Regions from separate parts of the Homo sapiens genome. Here all the other regions are linked to region 1. The links are contacts of gene promoters, found by promoter capture Hi-C in blood cells and fetal thymus (Javierre and others, 2016). All regions are on one chromosome and are shown on one strand. The core of a region is centred on a gene start or on the middle of the fragment in contact, and the rest is flanking DNA. Distances in the headings are between cores, read along the strand shown. Region 1 holds the start of CBR1 (carbonyl reductase 1). Region 2 overlaps RUNX1 (RUNX family transcription factor 1). Region 3 overlaps RUNX1 (RUNX family transcription factor 1). Region 4 overlaps LOC107985515 (a long non-coding RNA gene).

Region 1 (3,200 bases), core at 112-2,611:
CAGGCGCCTGCCACCACACCCAGCTAATTTTTGTATTTTTTTTTTTTTTTTTTTTTTTTAGTAGAGATGGGGTTTCACCATCTTGGCCAGGCTGGTCTTGAACTCCTGACCTCATGATCCACCCACCTCAGCCTCCCAAAGTGCTGAGATTACAGGCGTGAGCCACCGCGCCAGGCCTGGTCTCTTTTGAATAAACAAATTGACCCTCCCAGTCTAAAAACTTGAGAAATTTACATTTGTCTTATCTGAGTTCCTTTCTCAGGGAACTAGCCATCAGTCCTCCCAGATAGCACCAAGGAACTGAAACTTATCGGATCACCACATCTGGAAAATCAGACACCAGACCCCTCACCTGCAACAATTGCCTGATGCCTGTTGACCCACTCCTCTTCATCTCTCCCTAACTCCTGCTATTTTCCCACATGCAGTTACATTTCTTCCCTGCTATATCCTAATTTTAATCAGTTGAGAAGATGGATTTGAGACTGATCTCTCCCCCCTAGGCTGTAGCACCCAAATAATGCCTTCTTCCCTGACAATAATGGGGTCTCAGTGACTGGCTTTCTGTGCTGTGAACCACCAGACCTAGACCAAACTCCTGGCATTTCTCTAACAATTTCCCACCACTGAACTAAGTTATAAATTCTGAGGATGGATCCCTGTTTCTTCATTTTAAGATGGGGATTAAAAGGTACATCCTAGAGTGTTATTGTCCGTGTAAAATAGGGCTGTGAAACCCCCTACACCTATGCACAGATAAACTGATGGCCCTGCAAATGCCCAGAGAAGTAACCTTATAAAGATTTAGTGAATGTTTCCCACCATTATTGGAAAATCTGGCTAAGTCAGTAGCTTTGTTTTCATATACTTAGGGGGAAAATCAACAAAAACTTGATGCCCTGTTATTTCCTTCCAGTTTCTTCTGCAACTCTAGCTCCAAAGACTGCAGTTCCTGCAGTATTTTTTTTTTTAGAACACCAGGAAAAAAAGAAAAAAAAACCATGCAAATGTACTATTTCTTCAAACACAACTAGGAATGATTGAACAGCTGGGAGAATATGAAGAAAACCCCTCAGAGAACCAAGGGCAAGCAGTGAGTTCAGATCTAGGCACATGGCCACTAGGAATGGTTCTTCACTGCCACGTGGGCAGCCAACAGCCAGTAGCTAGAGACCAGCCTCGGTCTTCGGCCTGCGGGTTCTGCAAAGTCAGGCTAGCTGGCTCTCCGCCTGCTCCGCACCCCGGCGAGGTTCCGGTGGGGAGGGGTAGGGATGGTTCAGCCCCGCCCCGCTAGGGCGGGGCCTGCGCCTGCGCGCTCAGCGGCCGGGCGTGTAACCCACGGGTGCGCGCCCACGACCGCCAGACTCGAGCAGTCTCTGGAACACGCTGCGGGGCTCCCGGGCCTGAGCCAGGTCTGTTCTCCACGCAGGTGTTCCGCGCGCCCCGTTCAGCCATGTCGTCCGGCATCCATGTAGCGCTGGTGACTGGAGGCAACAAGGGCATCGGCTTGGCCATCGTGCGCGACCTGTGCCGGCTGTTCTCGGGGGACGTGGTGCTCACGGCGCGGGACGTGACGCGGGGCCAGGCGGCCGTACAGCAGCTGCAGGCGGAGGGCCTGAGCCCGCGCTTCCACCAGCTGGACATCGACGATCTGCAGAGCATCCGCGCCCTGCGCGACTTCCTGCGCAAGGAGTACGGGGGCCTGGACGTGCTGGTCAACAACGCGGGCATCGCCTTCAAGGGTATGGGGAGGGGACGTGGCCTCCCCGAAGAAGAACCGATGCACTGGGGCTCCTGGCGTCTGCGGGGTCCATAACGCCTCCCTAGGGAGGAGAGGGAGGAGCTAGGAGATGCAGGGAGTGCAGAAACCTTGGAGAAAGTGAGAGTTTTCCAGCCAAAGGGAACTTTGTGTTTCCCTGGCTGGGACTCTTGGGGATCTTTTTCAGGTTTTCTGCAGTTTTTCTGAATTGAGCTTTAAGGCAACTGGATGGATTTTGAACTGATTTTAAAATAAACGACAAATTGCAAAAAGAAAAAATGGTTATGCCAAGATCCAGTGTGTGCACCCTTCATCCTCCTTCCCCCAATGGTGCCATCTTACAAAAATACTAGAACATGATCAAACCAGGAGATTGACATTGGCACAATACTGTAACCAGATACAGACTTACTTTAGGCAGAGGGCACTAAGTTTTTTTTTTTTTTTTTTTTTTTTTTTAGTATCATTGTATAGAATTTTACCCCATGGGTACAATGTATTAACTATGTTCTCTTTCTCTCCTAAAAGTTGCTGATCCCACACCCTTTCATATTCAAGCTGAAGTGACGATGAAAACAAATTTCTTTGGTACCCGAGATGTGTGCACAGAATTACTCCCTCTAATAAAACCCCAAGGTGAGTCTGATGGGAAACAGCGCACCTTCTCTTTGGGGCTTGATTTGGCCCCTGCTTGCCTGGGATTTCTCCTGCAGGCTCCTGCTTCCTCTCCATGCTGCACGTGCACTGACCTCTGTGCTTTTTCTCCTGCCAGCTGATATGTGCCATTTTGCCTCAGGACTTTGTCCTCACTTCTCCCACTCCCATGGCCATTCGTCCTCCCTGTCGCACTGGTCTTTGCACACCTGGCTGACTCTCATCCTTCAGGTCTTAGCTCAAACGTCTCCTGAGAGATGCTCTTTATTTGCTCCATTCCCCTCTGCGTGGGAGTCCATCCTGTACCCTTTCTCTGCTCTTTCAGAGAGATCTTATTCAGGCTGGTGGAGGCTTTACTACCACCAGTTCATTAGGCCCTTCTAATACCTGTCACCTGTCTGAAACACTCCTTAAGCTCCCAACCACATGGTTGTCTTGCTGCCTTTCCATCTCTTCCTGATGCCTTTCCCCACAATCTAAGATATTTCCAGAGGATCCCTATCCTTTTCCCTAAGTCGTTTGGGACACAGACCCCACCACCCACCCACCAGGATCCTGCAGGTCACCATGCCCCACCCCTCATAATCATTTACTAGGTCCTAGGAGTTGTGCCCACTGAGTTCCTCCTGAATCCGTCTCATTGCAGCTCTACAGCAGGCCCTCACCTGTCCCTCTGGACAATTGCAAACCCTCACAAGGCACCTCTGGTCTTGAGTCTTTTCCTCTTTTCCTTTCCCAGCATCCTGCGTACTGTCTGCATGGTCATGCCTCTCCCAAAATCCTTCAG
Region 2 (3,046 bases), core at 467-2,966, 1.2 Mb before region 1:
CCGTCTCCTGAATACAAGCATCTCTTCTTAATTTCTCCCGTTTGAGAAACAGAACATCCTGTGTTTGTAAGTTTATAATCCAACCCATCTTTTACTTGCTCAGACCTCCACTAACAGGCTGAACAAGGTGCAGACTTTACTTTTAGAAAATAAAACAAAACAAAAAAACACAAAAAAACCCAATTTCTGCTAAAAGTAGATTTCATCTTGCTGACGATTCTTAAGTAACTTAAACTGTCCCTCTACAGTTCATCTTTGATACCTCCTACTCATCGCTATTATCTTGAGTTTTACTAGCAATGAATTCTAGCACACAAGAAAAAAAAATCAGAAATGCACCCTTCGTTTACTAATTACAAAATCAACAGACCTCAGAAAGACGGGACATTCACTTCTATGCACTCCCCTCAATTCAGGGGTGGAATTGGGTTGCATTTTTGTATCTGTGAGTCTCAGCGTGTGTAAACTCATGTCCTCACAGATGCCTGAGGTTTTCTGCTAGCCCAGCTGATCTTGACCAGGAATTTATTTAATGTAACTGAGTAAGTATGAAGTCTTATCAGGGCTATTGGAGAAAACTGGTAGATAAATGTTTTTATACTCAGGTAATTAAGAAAATGAATTCCAAAGTAAAATACTCTGAAAAGCATGACCTAAAGATACTTTGTACAATAGCATCAATTTCTTGGCTATCATTTAGGCCTTCTAGAAACTATTTTCTTGGTCTAGACATTTACTATTGGCTGTATTTCCTTTGTTTCTATTTTTCAAAGCAGTCATACAACTTCAAATCGAAATGCCCCAAGCTGTATTTATTCTGATCATTTCTGACATTCTTTACGGTAAAGTCAGTAGTGACATTTATATTACTCATTCCAATTACATCATCATTTTTGGTTGCTGTTTTTGAATTGGTAACAGTAAAGCATTCCTTAATCTAGTGTTATCACTCCTTCCTCTGCCTCCTACTTCCCAATTTTTACCTTAATAACTGCTACATAATTTTTTGTAGTATATATTTTCAGGCCTCTTTTTCTATATGTAAAAAAGGCTGCCATAGACTCACTTGTATGATATCGAAGTCATGTTTCTCAAGATTCCCATTTTCATGATCTGCTTAGCCATCACCCTTTCCCTGTGGCCTCCAGATGACTATCTATTGTTTTTATTCATTAGAACTGCTTCAGTCCTTGTGGCACAGAACACGAACTAACTCACTATGAGAGATGAACATACTTCCAACCCCAAGACTACACCAGGATAATCTAGTCTCATAGAAGCAGGGAGGCATTTTCCTCTATTTTATCCAACTTGCACTGCCAAACAAGGTCTGGGCCTTTTCTCTCTTTTTAATCCTTTCATTCCAATTGTTGGACATGTTTTCCATATAGGAGATTTTAAAACTCTGCTATTTATTCCCCAAGCACCCTCTAATTAGCTATTTAGTTCCCATTATAAGTGTGTTTGTTGCCATTTAATTAAGAGCAGTGATACGACAATTCCCTTTTTGTTTTAAAAAGATATCACGGAAATAAATCTCCCTGATCAGTTATTTGGTTATTGCTACTGTTTTTTTTTTTTTTCTATTCCCGAAAAATGGGCTTGCTTTATTTTGCTCTTTTTAGTCTCTCACAACAAATTTTCCCCTTTTTTTCATGATTTTCACTTCCCGTTGTAAAGTTAGCTCACAGTGTTGAAATGCCCTCTTTGAACACATATTTTTACTTCCTCATCCTCCTCTCCCTGTGGTAACCCAGGCTTCTCTATTGTAACTCAACATTCAGCAGGTATACAGAGACTGCCTCCACTACGTGGGTTTCAAACTGAATAACTCATTGTTGGGTCTGGATCTGTAAAAAGGTGAAAATAAATAAATCTTCTTTTATAACTACAGGAATGTATTCTGAATTATCTGCCTCCTACTGCTGTTCCCCTCACAGTGCTCCAAGCCTGTGCCTCTCTCATCTTTCCAATACTATCCTCATTGGTAATTTGGCAAATTCAGGAGACCTTCGCCAAGTCGAAACAAACATAGAATAAAATTATCATGGAGGCTAAATAAGAAAAGGCTGTTGATGTTGGAACTTAAGAAGAAAAAAATTAGAAGTTTAACTCCCACTCCTCTTTTTTTTTAAATGCAGCAGAATCAACCATATTTGGGCACCTACATATCATTCACTTGGCCTTGTATTGATCTCTGAGGGTTTTTTTTTGGTGGAGGCGGGTGGGTAAAGGGGAACTAGTAAATCCAGGGCAATTCATTAATACTGTATATCGTCCAATTGTTAACAAGCATACTTAAGCCAGGTTTAAAAAGTTTCTTTTTAATTCAAAACTAACATGCGTGCTAATTTGATACAGGTTTTGTCACTGATGGGCAATATGGAGAGAATGTAAAAATATCTAACTTCAAACAGAAAAAAGAAACAACTGGAATGAAAAGCTATAAACAATAGGTAAGGAAACACAAACATTTACATTTTAACACAGACCAAACAGGCAAGAAGGGACTTGCTGGCCAAAGATATCTCATATTTTGTTTTACTTCTCTGTTTTTAAAGTATCAGGAAGTTGGGCCAAATATCAACTCTCTTCTATATTACATGGACCTCCCAATACTGTTCTTGGCTAGCCTGTTCACGGTCCAAACTGGCATTTTAAACCAATTCTAATTAGGTTGAAATTACAGTTACAATTCATTTACTTCAAATCCGTTAACCTTCCAGTGTTGCAAAGAAGGCTGTGGAGTGGAACACAGAATTCAGCTGAGATGATATTTAAGGCATAGCTAGGGACTGTGATCTTGCCGACAAAAATATTACTTATTTCCTTTTTATGAAAAGAATATTACCATCAGAATCCAAGACCTCCGAACTTCCCTGCTGAAGGCACGTTTACGTCTTTGGACTCTGGTGTACCAGGGCCTGAACAAGCTATAACACCATGGTATTACCAAATACATCCTAAGTCATCAAAACAGCTTTTTAGGCTAATTCTGTAAGTACAGCAAAACACACAGCAAACTTAAGGTTTTCTTAGTAGTAAA
Region 3 (3,276 bases), core at 523-3,022, 1.0 Mb before region 1:
GTGCAGTTTAAGATTCTCCCCACCTATTCCACAGGTATATGTCTTCTGTCCTCAAACTGCTGGGAGACAAAGATACATAGCTTTCTTTTATGTCTGTAAGAGGCCTGGCATAATACTGCCAGTGCACTGAGCAAGTTAGCAACAACCTCATAGAAAATGCTAATGCTGAAAAAATTAAAATAATTCAATGATTATCTATATTCGGACAAAGCATTCTGGAATCACAGCAAGAAAATGTGGCAAACCTCCTTGAGCCCTTGAGCCTCTGCACCTCACACAGGATCACACCCACACCCCCCAGAAAGCTGAATAAGACCTATGCAAACAACCTTCCAGGGAAGGGATCGACAACCACAATCAGCCTTCTGCCTAGTTAATCATAAACCCAAACCTGCCGAAGCCAAGTCCATCGCCAGAACAAGGGGACAATTAGCATTGCCCTTTGCACACAGCTACTCACTGGGAAAATCGTGCACTGATCAGTGCACGCGGCTTCAACTTTCTCCTGACCCCAGAAGATTCTAGCGAAGGGCTGCTTGGTTATAGAAATAGAAAGCCCTTATCAGGAAGCTGTCAATTTCATGACAAACTTGGTATCGGGGAAGCAGATAATGGGCTGTTTACATAGTCTTAGGCGGACCAGGATTCATCTTGGGTCTTAGGGTTTCCCAATTCCAGATATTTCAAATATGGAAAACAGCAAAACAAGTCAAAATGATTTAATACTGTATATATAGCAATAAAAAAACTGAAAAAGTATTATTTTCTAAATCTTTAAGAGTTGCAATTAGATTTTTTTTTTAACCAAAATAGCACAACTGTTCCCCTTCTCTATAGAAAGTTTTCATTAGTTCCTCCCCGACCTTACTTTCCAGAGGACCTGGTAATAAACAAAAGAATGATCCCTTGAGCATTTTTCATCATAGCATCATGCTTTTAATGGAGCAGAGATGAATCCTGGGCTGCTGTGACCCACGGGTAGAAAACACAGTGCTTCTGTGTTTGGGTTTGATCACCCTCATGGAGAAAGTGGCTCCTGAAGACAGATGTAATTAGTTCTAATGTCTGAGGCCTTTGGGGATGTTCCTAAGGCTTTTTATTGAGAAGGCAAAGCAAGCAGAGGTGAGATCTGGGAGGATAAAGTAGAAGGCAATGAGACCCGAAAGAGTTTGGCTTATGCAAAGGAATTTCCATGAGCACCCACAAACATTGGTCCAGGTACTCTCTTAGTCACTGTCCCCTCGAGGATGGGGAAGAGGAAGCTGCCAACGTCACCTGGCTGCTGCATCGACTTCCTCCTCTTGCCCCATCATCCATCTCAGTTTTAGATTTAAGCCAGGACTGATTCTCTGTGGTCTAGGCTGATGTGCAAGTGAGAATCTTGATTAGAAAACCCCCAAATAACTAAATAAATGAAGTCTGTTGCTTGTTTAATGCCTTTAAATAGTGTCTCATTTATAAAATGTATTTACAACCTTTAAAAGTACACTTTGCTTCTATGGGGACTTATGGAACGTTCTGACCTAAGTCCTTGTCAGTAGCTTTGAGAAGGGGAATGAGGTCCCCACAAAGAATCTGGGGCTTCCCATCATCTCCACTTACCTTCAGGCTGGCTGGCTGAGGCACTTGGGTAATGACTTTGGGGAGACAATAACATGTTTAGCTTTAGTCTTTTCTCAAGAGAAAATTCCATCTTGGCAGTGTCCACCAGGGATACTCTGTCCCTAGGTTTTGGAGTATGCTCATTCCCCATGACTGGCAAAGTAAAATTGAACCATGGAGCCAGAAAGTCTGAGTCAGTCTGAGTCAGGCCCTGTAACCCTGCACACCAATCTGTTTCTCAGTTTCCCATCCGCAAAATGGGGTGAATAGCTGTATCTACTATGTAAAGATTGTTCTGAGGATTACATGAGTTATTATCTGCAAAGCACCTAGAACAATTCCTGGCACATAGCGAGCGAGCACTGTCTAAGTGTTTATGAACTAACTAAATAAATGGTCTTAACTTTCTAGGTGCTGATTTTTTTCTCTATCAGGGAAAATGTTTCTGTGTGCTATTTGTGGAATAAGCAATAATGATAGAAGCTCCAAACATAGTCACTTAAATACACTATGAGCACTATGCGTGTGCACATACACATAATATATAAATACACTGAGCTAAACATTACTATCTTCCCCATGTCAAGCTCTGAAGCAACTGAGAAATAAACCCCTGAAATCAAATGAAGAAGTAAATACCAGCATTTTGCTTGTAGAGTTGAGTTGGAGAAAGAGCCCATCTGGGGTTTCTTCCAGAGCATGAGAAGTACCTGCAGGGACCTACCCAGCCAGCCACAGGGGCCTGCGCTGACCTCATCTCTGCTGAGCCCTGAGATCAGGACATAGCTGGGGTGGGAGCGGGCCCTGCCTCAGGCCTCATCCAGGGAGACAGAGGCAGAGGAGAATGCACCATATCAGGCAGGCTGTCCCCAGAAGGCCTCTCTCAATCTCTCCCATTGGATGTGCCTCTCCTCTCATAAGGCGGAAGAAGGCAGAGGCAGATAGAAGCTCAGAGCTCTTCTCTCAATGCTTCCAAAAGGGTAGGAGTTCCCATTTAAGAGGCTGGCAAGAACTCCAGGAGCAGGCGAGAATGATCCCCAAGACACATATCAATGTGAAATACATGTGTTTATATTGTGAAACAGTCAACTCCAGCTTCAGAAGCAGTTTGCTGGGGATCATTGTCCCCTCCAGACTGAACACGGGCTAACATGTAGCTGAGAGCGGGTGTAGACAATAGTCTTGAAGGAGCTGATTGGCGGTTCCGTGGTTTACCAGCAGCACCGGGCAAAGGAATGTGGCTTACCTTTGAACAGACGAAAGAGGGTGGAAGCGTCTGCACCAGGTGTGTGCAGGCAAGGGCATGTTGAGAGATAGGCTGGGTGGTAAAGAGAGGTTCCTTCTCGGTCTTACTCTTGATGGAGTCCGCTGGTTTTCTAGCCTGCGCCCCGCAGGAGTGCCTGAAGGGTGTCTGGTATCAGTAATCTCCTATCCCTAAACCAGCAGGAGCTGGGGAACATTTAACAACCAGCTCTTCAGGATAAACAGCTTTGACTTATAACATGTGCAGATTTCAGCAATCACTGCTGATCACTATAGTTCCTCTCACAGCAACACTCTATGTTAGAGCATTTCCACCATTTAGAGATAAGAAACAAGTGCATATAGATCTTTGTAAACTGCAATAAAATAATAAGGCAGAGGCTGGGCGCTGTAGCTCAGGCCTGTAATCCC
Region 4 (3,037 bases), core at 107-2,606, 1.3 Mb before region 1:
TTCCTCATTCCTTTTTAAAGCCGCATAGTAGTTGTTTGAATCTAGCATGCTTTATTTAACTAATCCTTTCTTGATGGACATCTAGGTTTGTTTCCAAGTATTTGCCATCACCAGCAAAGCTGCCATGAATTATCTCACACACATGTCATCTTAAAAGTGTCTCGGCAGCACAAATTCCCAGAAGATGAATGACTGGGTCAGAGGGCATGTGGATTTGTAGTTTTGTTAATGATCACTCTGTTTCTTTCTGCAGGGGTTGTGCCAATTCACATGCTCACTGGCGGTACACAAGAGTCCCACAGCCTCCACCAAAGAGTGAGTTACCCAACTCTGCATTTTTCTCCCAATCTCAGTGTAATCGAATTTGAATATCTATTCCTATGTTTAAGAAAGAGGATTTAAAGAGTTCTGGTTTTGTCTCCTAAAAGGAAAAAAAAAATGCATCTGGAACCTCCATGTTACTTGTTTACATTTAAGGATAAATGAAAAATGCAGTAATTTCCCGTAATGTCCACAAAATCAGTGACTTGCCGAAGTCCACACACCTTTCCCTATCTGGAAAGAAGCTTCTGTGGAAGGCCTCTGTTTCCCAGGATACCTCACTTCCCACCGTCCCAGGGACAGGCTGTGAGATCCCACTCCTCCACACTCCCCACTGTTGACTCCCCACAGTCAGCTCCCCTCTGAGTGCCCAGCCTGGGCTCCAGTAGTTTATTTAAAAGCATGACGAGCCCTCTAATTATGGAGATAAAAGCTGCCTGTGATGCAGAGCAGGGCTTGGGTTGAAAGGTCTCTTTTTTGGCTCTTTCCCATCTCATTAGAGTTGCGGGGGTGGCTGGTCACCCCAAGGTTTAATCCTTGGAGGCAGTGTGACAGCAAATGTGGCAAGAATCACAGCTCATTGATTGTTCCATTAAAAATTTCTACAGGTACCTGTAAAAGTGCCTTTCAAGTTGCTTCAGTCTGAAGAATCTTATTGCTCCTAAATTGAGGTCAATTAATCCCCTGAAAATGTGTGGCATTCACAATTTGATGTCATGGCCTCCATGTGAACATCTCTCTCTGCATGGATGGAGGAAGCGAACAGCTCTTCCTTCTTCCTGCCTTTCCCACTTCCCCTAAATCTAAAGAGCAATTCTCTGCCTTTGCGAGCATAGGCTGGTGAGAGCAGGGAGAGCAAGACCACACTGCTCAGCAGCCGTGTTTACCATCTGATCATCATGGAGGGACAACTGAGTGCACAGTGTCCTTCCATCCATCATTGCAAGACCAGGGAAGGAAATTTGGCCCTCGGGCAGGCTGTAGCCCAGGAAAAAGGCTATCCTCAGAAGGCCAGCCGCCTTCTCTAGTTTGCAAACAGCACAGATTTAGAGCTTGCGTTCCTTCTCATCCCAGGAACCACATATGAGCACCTCTCCCTGCCATGGTTCTCACGATGCCTGGATGGTCCTTATTTAAGTATTGAATCAGGAGAGGGCAAGAGGCTTCACCCAAGACGGCTGTGAGGTGGGGATGCTTGAGCTGCCCGCATCTGCTGGTCAATGTGTCACCTCCATCCTCTAACCCAGAGAGCATTTCTCTTCATTTCCTCTGCTTCTTGCTCCCTACATTCAACACTCTGACCTCACTCTGCCATCTCTCAAAAGCTAACCCCAGACTCCTCTTCTCAGTACAGGGCTCTGGTGACCAGGGAGACTGGGATGTGATGAGCAGGGCCTTGGGAGCCAGTTATAGAGAGTTAAGTCCTGGCTTGGTCATTTACAATCCCTGAGTACTTTAACTTTTCTGAAATGTAGTTTCTTCATCTGCAAAATGGGCTAGTAATACCAATGTGCAACAGCAATAGGTGAGGATTGAAGGAGACATTTAGGAAGTCTCTGGCCCCATACAGAGTACTCATGGCAGCTGTGAAAGTGTGCTTCCCGGGTGGAGGATGAGCCCATCTACTGGTCCTTTGGATCCACTAGTGGGTTTGCTTGGAGGTCACACTTACCACAGCTGCTCCCAGGTGGTGACTGGGCCCTACAGGGATGCGAAGACAGGCCCATTCCAGAGAGATGTGGGATTTCTCTGACAGACAGTTGTGGCTCAAGGACTCTCCCTGAGCCTTGCTAGAACTTTCTTGGAGCTGTGCTGCAGTGTCTAGACAAGCTTCCTTCCTTTCCTCCTCCTCCTTCCCTCTGACCTTCACAGGGCCAGACCTGCACCATAGCTTGAGGGTTCTCCCACCTTCTTGGCCCCTTCCAGACCGTGTCTCCCAAGAAATCCCTCAGGTGTCTAATCCCATCTTGGTATCTGTTTCTGGAAGACCCAAACTACACAGCACTCAAACCATTTTAGTTCCATCTCCTTTTTGCTAAATATATAGTTTAAAGGCTGTGTTTAAGGATTACCTAGAAATCATTTTAGGGTATAATGACATGTTATTTATTTATTTTAAAATTATGTTTGCTCCACTTGGTGAAAATTTCTGTAAGTACCTCTGAGATCATGGATCCTGGGGCTTCACTGAGCATCAACCTTTGGGGAACTGCTTCTAATGCTGATAAAAGTGTCAGGATCTTTCCTTGTTGACTGGGACTGGCATTTTTTATGTGAGGGCAGGAGAACAGCGTTAGCATCTCTGCAGGTGTTGTGCTGCCCCAAACCAGCATCTTTCTTCACAGGGGGGCTAGAGAGGGTGGGGGGCCACTTCAGGCCCTAGAACCTTTGGGTGCATGAATAGAAGTGCCATCAGCCTCTTTGCGGTCTCAGAAGACAGTACTCTTTTGCTCTATCTGATTTTTTTTTTTTAAGGAATCTTACCTCCTTGGTGCTAAGTGGTGACAGATACTTTGACACTTACTTCTTTTGCCCCATAAATCAGCCCTGGGTCCTGGGCAGCTTAGAATCATGAGACCATAAAAATATGAAATGACAAAGCATGGAGTGGTCTTAGAGATAATTAAATTGACCTGCCTTACTTGATACTTGAGGAAAGAGGCCTAGAGTACATCAGAAGTGAATCTACCCTTGACTTCCTTTTTAAAAAATCCAT

The links. Contacts are between HindIII fragments. The CHiCAGO score rates a contact against its expected background, and 5 or more counts as called.
Region 2: a contact is called between a fragment that was not itself captured here and the fragment with the promoter of CBR1 in region 1, in 1 of 17 cell types (neutrophils). The highest score is 8.9, in neutrophils.
Region 3: a contact is called between a fragment that was not itself captured here and the fragment with the promoter of CBR1 in region 1, in 1 of 17 cell types (neutrophils). The highest score is 7.2, in neutrophils.
Region 4: a contact is called between a fragment that was not itself captured here and the fragment with the promoter of CBR1 in region 1, in 1 of 17 cell types (endothelial precursors). The highest score is 5.0, in endothelial precursors.

Annotation. Positions count from the first base shown.
Region 1 is chr21:36,068,663-36,071,862 of GRCh38, forward strand. CBR1 (carbonyl reductase 1) reads left to right here and starts at 1,362. Exons shown (of 3, transcript NM_001757.4): 1 at 1,362-1,742; 2 at 2,288-2,395. The coding sequence starts at 1,454. It overlaps CBR1-AS1 (CBR1 antisense RNA 1), which reads right to left. Exons shown (of 4, transcript NR_040084.1): 4 at 980-1,823. RefSeq lists an enhancer at 1,418-1,667. The HindIII fragment of the contact is 9,155 bases long and covers 1-3,200 here.
Region 2 is chr21:34,881,122-34,884,167 of GRCh38, forward strand. The region is part of intron 4 of RUNX1 (RUNX family transcription factor 1); the gene reads right to left. RUNX1-AS1 (RUNX1 antisense RNA 1) reads left to right here. Exons shown (of 2, transcript NR_186614.1): 2 at 2,362-3,046. Among named protein-coding and RNA genes, the nearest start is that of RUNX1-AS1, 46 kb to the left of the region's middle. RefSeq lists a silencer at 1,802-1,851. The HindIII fragment of the contact is 5,547 bases long and covers 1-3,046 here.
Region 3 is chr21:35,019,369-35,022,644 of GRCh38, forward strand. All of the region lies in intron 2 of RUNX1 (RUNX family transcription factor 1), which reads right to left. Among named protein-coding and RNA genes, the nearest start is that of RUNX1-IT1, 18 kb to the right of the region's middle. The HindIII fragment of the contact is 7,607 bases long and covers 1-3,276 here.
Region 4 is chr21:34,737,173-34,740,209 of GRCh38, forward strand. LOC107985515 (a long non-coding RNA gene) reads left to right here. Exons shown (of 3, transcript XR_001755016.1): 2 at 254-315. LINC00160 (long intergenic non-protein coding RNA 160) reads right to left here and starts at 10. Exons shown (of 6, transcript NR_024351.2): 1 at 1-10. The HindIII fragment of the contact is 1,585 bases long and covers 565-2,149 here.